2 separate regions of the Homo sapiens genome follow, and region 2 is linked to region 1. The links are contacts of gene promoters, found by promoter capture Hi-C in human tissues and cell types (Jung and others, 2019). All regions are on one chromosome and are shown on one strand. Each heading gives the region's core, a stretch centred on a gene start or on the middle of the fragment in contact. The rest is flanking DNA. Distances are from core to core; before and after follow the strand shown.

Evidence for each region. The method cuts DNA at HindIII sites, captures the fragments that hold promoters and counts their contacts. A contact is called where the count stands out against the background at its distance.
Region 2: a fragment that was not itself captured here is called in contact with the fragment with the promoter of MAP3K10 in region 1 in 4 of the 25 tissues and cell types used here (dorsolateral prefrontal cortex, hippocampus, lymphoblastoid cells and 1 more).

The regions. Positions count from the first base shown.
Region 1 is chr19:40,189,467-40,193,449 of GRCh38, forward strand. It overlaps MAP3K10 (mitogen-activated protein kinase kinase kinase 10), which reads left to right and starts at 1,960. Exons shown (of 10, transcript NM_002446.4): 1 at 1,960-3,247. The coding sequence starts at 2,566. RefSeq lists an enhancer at 1,188-1,427 and silencers at 1,588-2,087, 2,358-2,657. The HindIII fragment of the contact is 11,839 bases long and covers 1-3,983 here.
Region 2 is chr19:40,051,635-40,055,990 of GRCh38, forward strand. All of the region lies in intron 1 of ZNF780B (zinc finger protein 780B), which reads right to left. Among named protein-coding and RNA genes, the nearest start is that of ZNF780B, 2.4 kb to the right of the region's middle. The HindIII fragment of the contact is 4,300 bases long and covers 1-3,819 here.

The sequences.
Region 1 (3,983 bases), core at 710-3,209:
TCTCAGGCTGGAGTGCAGTCAGTGCCACAATCACAGCTCACAGTAGCCTCGACCTCCTGGGCTCAGGTAATACCCCTATACCTCAGTCTCCCGAGTAGCTGGGAACACAGGTGCACACCACCACACCCGCCTAATTTTTTATTTTTTTGTAGAGACGGAGTCTCCCTATGTTGCCCAGGCTAGTCTGAAACTCCTGGACTCCAGTAATTCTCCCTCCTCGGCCTCTGAAAGTGCTGGGATTACAGGCATGAGCCACCGTGCCCAGCTAGTTGCATATATTTTGAGCAATCTGTCTCTAACTCTATTTTTTCCATGAAGTCTTGTTAATTTTAGTGCACCGTTTTGAAGAACTGAAGGTTTTTTAAGAATGCATATAGCAGGTTATAGCAGAAACACTTATACTCAGAATGAAGCTGGGGCTCTCTCTTCCAACAAGCATTTTTGATATGCTCCGAGTGTCCCTGCTAGGTAGCCAGGAGACCAGGTAACCCACTTCCCTCTGACAATGGAACAATTCCCCAAGGACCCTGAGGGGCAGTTCTCTGGAGTTTGGGCACTAGAGTCCCTCTTATTTCCTCTTCTTCTCTCCTCCCTCTAGACCCCATACCACTCAGGAGAGGCCAAGTAAAAAGACCCAGAATTTTGCCTCTTACAAGCTTAGAGATCTTGAAGAAGTCACTGAACCTCTGCGGGACCTACTTTCCTCATTCTTTAAATAGAAAGGCAGTGGGTTTTTTGTTTGTTTGTTTTTTGTTGTTTTTTTTTTTGTTGTTGTTGTTTTTGTTAATCGTGGCGATGGTTATTTATTTATTTATTTATTTTGAGACGGAGTCTTGCCCTGTCGTCCAGGCTGGAGTGCTGTGGCGTGATCTTGGCTCACTGCAACCTCCACCTCCCAGGTTCAAGCGATTCTCCTGCCTCAGCCTCCCGAGTAGCTGGGATAGATTACAGGCGCACACCACCACGCCCGGCTAATTTTTTTTTTTTTTTTTAAATAGTAGAGACGGGGGTTTCACCATGCTGGCCAGGCTGGTCACGAACTCCTGGCCTCGTGATCCGCCCGCCTTGGCCTCCCATAGCGCTGAGATTACAGGCGTGAGCCACCGCGCCCGGCCTGGTTGTTAATTTTTAAAACTGCCTTTCATTTTTGCTTTGCCATTTATAGCTCTGTAGCCTTGCACAAATGACTTCACTTCTCTATGAGTCATCTGTAAAATGGGGCTCTTTGTGAAGACTTAACGATACCACGTGTACAAAGCACTGAATACAACATGCACATTAAGCTCCCCGAAATTGAAACTCCTATAAAATAGGAATCGGGGATTCTCAAGAGCAGGAGTTCTGACTTCAGCAGAGGAACCCAGAGCTGGTGGGGAAAGCAGACGTGGCTGTGACATCCCCAGGGACACTAAACACATCCTCCCAGCCCCATCTTCCCCGCAGAGTCCCGCCACCGGCCCGACCCCTAACTTGCTCCAACCACCCGCCGACGCCCGCAGCCCGCTGTTTGGGGGCCGCCCCCTGCAGCGCCAGGTCCCCGCGCGGACTACAGTTCCCAGCGTACATCTCGGTCGGGGGGTCCGAGGGGCCGTCCTGCCTCAGGGATAAGGTCCAGGCTGCGTTCGCGGCTCCGGGCAGTCACAGTCATGCACGCAGCTCCTATTTTTCGCGTTGCTAATCGCGTCCGTTGCAGTCCAACCCATCCTGGGCCGCGGCCCCCACAGGGTCTGTGAGGAGCGCTTCCCCCCGCCCCGGGCGCCCGCTACGCCGCGTCCGAAGGAGGGGCCGAGGCCGGGCTCATCTCCCCGGGAGGACTCCTTCGGCTTCGTGGGGTGTCATGTCCATTGCGGCCCGAGGCTGGCCGCGGGGCTCTGCTGGAGGGCGCTGAGAGCCGGGCCCCGAGGCCGCACGGCCGGAGACTACAACTCCCAGGAGGCACCGCGGCGGCGGCGCCCACACGTCACTCGGGCCCCGCCGGTGGCCCGGGGAAGCAGCACGGGCGGGGGGCAGGGGCTGGGGCCGACCGGGAGGCCGGTGCCAAGGATGGGGGCCGCCCGGCTGCCCCGCGCGTGAGGAGGCCGAGGGGCGCGCCACCCCGGCCCGGGGCGGCCGCCCCAGGGGCCCCGCCACCCCCGCCCGGCCCGGCAGTCGTGGCCCGGGATGCGGAGCCGGGGGCCGCCGGTGGAGCTGCGCGGGGTGAGCGGCGCGGGGAACGGGGACTGCCTGCCGCCCTCGCCCTCGTCCCCCACCGGCGGACCCCGGCGGGCATTCGAGAGCCGCGCGGCCAGGCCCTCTTAGCCCTCTGCCGTTTGGGGGGCACGGGTGAACCTGCCGCCCCACTCCCACCCCGCCCCGCCCCGCCCGTACAGCCAAATCGGAAGGGACGAGCCTGCCCTTTGAAAGGGTTTTTTTTCTTGCTCCTGCGGAGGGCGCCCCAGCCATGGCCCTCAGGAGCTCCCTAGACCCCGCAGGGACTGCCCTCCATCCCGGCCGCCGGGGCCCGCCCTCTGCATCCCGCGGGCAGCCTGTGTGAAGCGGCCTCCCGCAGCCCCCGGCCCCTCCCCCATGGAGGAGGAGGAGGGGGCGGTGGCCAAGGAGTGGGGCACGACCCCCGCGGGGCCCGTCTGGACCGCGGTGTTCGACTACGAGGCGGCGGGCGACGAGGAGCTGACCCTGCGGAGGGGCGATCGCGTCCAGGTGCTTTCCCAAGACTGTGCGGTGTCCGGCGACGAGGGCTGGTGGACCGGGCAGCTCCCCAGCGGCCGCGTGGGCGTCTTCCCCAGCAACTACGTGGCCCCCGGCGCCCCCGCTGCACCCGCGGGCCTCCAGCTGCCCCAGGAGATCCCCTTCCACGAGCTGCAGCTAGAGGAGATCATCGGTGTGGGGGGCTTTGGCAAGGTCTATCGGGCCCTGTGGCGTGGCGAGGAGGTGGCAGTCAAGGCCGCCCGGCTGGACCCTGAGAAGGACCCGGCAGTGACAGCGGAGCAGGTGTGCCAGGAAGCCCGGCTCTTTGGAGCCCTGCAGCACCCCAACATAATTGCCCTTAGGGGCGCCTGCCTCAACCCCCCACACCTCTGCCTAGTGATGGAGTATGCCCGGGGTGGTGCACTGAGCAGGGTGCTGGCAGGTCGCCGGGTGCCACCTCACGTGCTGGTCAACTGGGCTGTGCAGGTGGCCCGGGGCATGAACTACCTACACAATGATGCCCCTGTGCCCATCATCCACCGGGACCTCAAGTCCATCAACAGTAAGTGGTGTCCTCTCCCCAAAATTCCTTCCACAGAACCTCTCAAGGCCAGGCCTAGGTGGTGGGAAACAGGGTGAGGGACACCAGATGACACTGTGCCTGGAGTGAGAAGGGGCAGCAGTATGATACCTTCAGGGTGAAGGTGAGGTAGGCCTTGCCTGCCTTAAGGGAGAAAAAGGAGGCTCAGAAAGGTTGAAGGACTTACCTGCCTCCCAGGCTGCAGAGTCACAATCGCTCAGTAAACATGTATCCATGAACACCTGCGTTCCCTGCATGAACAGGACAGATGCAGTGCCTGCCTTCAAGGTGCTTGCCATCCAGCCATGCTGCCAGAGTCCACCAGGCAGAGACAAAAAGAGCCTACCCCGTCTGGAGTCAGTGTCTCTCAACCCCAGCACTATTGGCACTTGAGGCCAGATCATTGTTGTAGGGGCTGTCCTGTAAATTGTGAGTTGCTTAGCGGCATCTTTAGCCTCTTCCCACTAGATGTCATTAGCATTCCCTGCCCCCTCTCCCCAGCTATGACAACCAAAAGTGTCTCCAGGCATTGCAAATGTCCCCTGGGGGGCAGAATCACCCCCAGTTGAGAACCATTTCCTGGAGTCTTCATAGGCCGAGCTGGCCAAGGCAAACTGGAAAAGATGAGGGAGGAATTAAATTGATGTGGCTTATATAAAAGCTTCCAGGCTGCCTGATAGGTTCTCCAAAGTTGATTGGTTGGTTGAATAAATAATGG
Region 2 (4,356 bases), core at 420-2,919, 140 kb before region 1:
AACTGTGCCTGTCATGAGGATCAAAAAGATTAATGTGACTATAACAAATAACATCAGCTAGTTCTGACATCCTTTAGCTGTATCTCACCAATATAATTAGACATTTTCATTATCAAGACTCTTCTCTGAATGAACACAATGCAGATAAGTGGCATCTGGAAACTACATGAGAAAATCTGTGGAATGTACATCACCATGCTTGGTTCCCTTCTTCACCAAATAACTCATTAAAATATCATTTTGGATACAATTCCTACAGAATGCCTTACAAAAACCCTATCTTAGTATATGGGATTCATATACATGTAACATTTTCTTGAGTATCATTGTTCATAGCATGAATACTGCTTAATGGTATATCAAATATTTTTCTTTTCATAATTCTTTATAGACATCATTTTATTAGCTGCATAATACTTTATCACTTGAGTCTAGTATAATTTGCTTAGTGATTTCCATATTACAGGACACTTGATTTATATAAGATCATTTACAGTGTCATTCCAGGTATCACAATCTTTTGATTCTAGACTAAGGTTTTTCACCCTAGGCACTAATGACATATTGTGCTGTATAATCCTTTGTTGGGGCTATAGGGAGGGTTATCCTGTGCACGGTACAATGTTCAGCAGTATCCCTGACCTCTATCCACTAGATCTAAGTAGCACCTCCCCCATGGTGTGACAACCAAAAGTTTTTAAACATCACCCCCGCTGAGAATCAATGTTCTATCTAGATCAATGGATCCAAACCTCATGGGTCACATACAGTTTTGATAGTCTTATGAAATGATATACTATTTCTCCCTCTAAAACCCACATTGATAAATTTCCATAGTACTTCAATACATTATTTCAAGAGCTTTGTGGTCCCCAAGACCATACGTGGAGTTACAAGAACTCAGATTAAGAATTTCAGTCCTACATTCTTGACAAAAATAGAAAAAAAAAAATCCTAAAATGTGCATAGAACCACAAAAGACCCAAATAGCCAAAGCAGTCTGGAGCAAAAAGAACAAAGTTGGAGGCATCAAACTACCTGACTTCAATATATACTACAAAGCTATAGTAACCAAAACAGCATGATACTGACATAAAAACAGACACCTAGACAAACGGAACAGAATAGAGAGCCCCAGAATAAATCCATATGTTTACAACCAACTGATTTTTGAGACAGGTGCCAAGAACATACAATAAGGAAAAGACAGTCTCTTCAATACATACTGTTGTGAAAACTGGGGAGTCATACACAGAAGAATGAAATTAGACCCTTTTCTCAAACCATTATACAAAAATCAACTCTAAATGGATTAAAGATTTAAATGTAAGATCCCAAACTATGAAACAAATAGAAAAAAACGTACGGGGAAAGCTTCATGACATTGATCTGGGCAATAATTTTTTTTTCTAGAAATGACTTCAAAAGCACAGGCAATAAAAGCAAACATAGACAAATGAAATTACATCAAGCTAAAAAAGCTTCTGCACAGCAAAGTGAAGAGACTACCTACAGAATGAGAGAAAATATTTGCAGTCATGTATCTAATAAGGGGTTAATATCCAAAACGTGTGAGGAACTCAACAGCAAGAAAACAACCCAATTAAAAAATGGGCAAAGGACCTGATAAACACATCTCAAAAGACGACATATAAATGGCTACAGTATATGAAAAAATACTCAACATTACTAATCATCAGGGAAATGAAAATTAAACCTACAATAAGATATCACCTCATATGTGTTGGGGTGGCTATTGAAAAGACATAAGTTAACAAATGTTGGTGAGAATGTAGAGAAATGTGAACCATTGCACACTGTTGGTGAGAATGTAAAGTGACACAGACATTATGGAAAACAGCATGGAGGTTCCTCAAAAAATTAGAAATAGAACCACCATATGATCCAGCAATCTACTACTGGATATTTATCCAAAGGAAATGAAATCTGTATACCAAAGAGACACCTGCACACCCATGTTTATTGCAGCACTATTCACAATAGCCAAGATATGGAATCAATCTAACTGTCTATCAATGAATGGATAAAGAAAATGTGGTATATATGCAGGTATATATACACAATGGAAAACTAGCCATAAAAAAAGGGAAATGCTGTCATTCGCAACAACATGGATGAACCTGGAGAAATTCATATTAAGTAAGCCAAGCACAGAAAGGCAGATGATCTCACTCATCAGTGGAATCTGAAAAATGTTCATATAGGCCAGGTGCGGTGGCTCACACTTGTAATCCCAGCACTTTCGAAAGCGGAGGCGAAGGCCGAGGCAGGCGGATCACCTAAGGTCCAGAGTTCGAGACCACCCTGGCCAACATGGCAAAACCCTGTCTCTACTAAAAATACAAAAATAAGCTGGGTGTGGTGGCATGCACCTGTAGTCCCAGCTACTCGGAAGGCTGGGGCAGGAGAATTACTTGAACCCGGGAGGCAGAGGTTGCAGTGAACCGAGATCACGCCACTGCACTCCAGCCTGGGCAACAGAGTAAGACACTCTCTCTCAAAAAAAGAAAACACTTGATATCATAGAATTAGAGAAGAGAATGGTGTTTACAGGTCGGGGGTAATGTGGGTGAGGGAGGGAAGATGGTGTTGGCTGGGGAAATGTTGGTCAAAGGATATAAAATTTCAGGAAGATAAGAGAAATAAGCTCAAGAAATCTATTACACAACAACGTATCTACTATTAATAACTACTATTAATAACTATTCTGTAGTGCTAAGAGAGTGGATATTAAGTGTTCTCACCACAAAAATGATAACTATGTGAGGTAATGCATTGCTAATTAGCTAGATTTAGTCATTCCACAATGTACATATACTATAAAACATCATGTTGCACACGATAAATACATACAATTTTATCTGTCAATTTAAAAAGAACTTCTGTCCTAGATCATTTGAGCAACTCACTCATTTTCTTACTATGCAAGCAGCAATCACAATGAATCACATATTCCCAATGCTCCTGTCCTATAGAAAGTCAAGGGAAATGACCTAAAATGACCACACGAAAACAAAAGCTAAAACATTAAACATTTATTATTATATGCCTAGCACTGCTCTAAGAGGTTTTAGAGTATTAATTCATTCTAATGTTCATTACAAGCCTGAGAAGACCAGAAACGGACAGAACAAACATTCCAACCCAGATACTCTGGATCCACTCCCCTATTCTTAACCGCAACAGCGTACTGCCTCTCACAGTTCACACAAATAGCCCAAAATGCAACCGGAACTGCCGAATCTCACAGAGATCTGGCAAGTATTACAATTATCATCTCATGGACTCTCCCGAAAAATCCTGACTCTGGTTGATACCAATTTCTGTGCAATCACTTTCCGATTCCTGAAAGCCTCACAGACGAATGGAAATCACCCAACCATCTCCATTCTTCCCTACTTGGAAAAGGAGGCCTGTAAAGAGTCAGAAACCTGGCGTGTGATTCCACAAACTAATCTTCTTTTCAAAGCAGAGTCTAAAATAAAGCTTTAATATAAACCTCTGGAGGACTATTTTTATACCAGCTTAGAAGAAGAGAGCGTACAGGAAGGTGTGAACGATTTGCCAAATGGCTCTGTGAATATTAAATGGCAAGGTGGGGAGCGGGCGGGGTGGGGAACGGCTCGCTGGGAGGCGGCACAATGGGAGGGGGCAAGAATCAATTTGCATATTCTCCTGAAATTCACTAAAAATTTACAGGAACCTCTATATTCTAAAATCAAAAACGCATTTCTTGAACAAATACAAAGCACAAACTCACCCTTGACTTAAGTGTGCAACAATAACGCTCTCATCCTCCTCTCGGTCCTTCTTTTGGATAATAATACGACTGGAGAAGGATACGGCAAGCGTGAGACTCCAGGCTTTTCTTGGAGCGCAGACTAAGTTTGAAAGCACCCTCCATGGCCACAACTTCCCTCACTTCGTACGAAATGAGAAGGAAATAAAAGGAGGAGGAATCGGTCTGAGTTCGAAGCTGGTTCCTGGGGACAGATCTCTGAGGGACGCTGGGTTCTCAACATGTAGCTGCCCTCCTGGGGGACCCTCAAGAGGCACTTCCAGCTCTCATATTCCCACCCCGAGTCCAGATCTGCGCCTTCTTGTGCAAAGCTTCATTCTCGGTTCAATATCTAACCTCCCTACTGGGGACATTTTCATTCCTCTGCTGCAGCCTCTGCAGCTTTGAAGGGGAAAGACGGAGGAAGCAGCAGGAGCCTAGTACCACCGGCACAGTGACACTCACACAGCCCCAGCAAAACGCACTGCGTCCACACGCCGTCCCGGTCCTGTGCACAGGGCCTCACGCACACACTCACACAGTCCCCTCCGTCACTC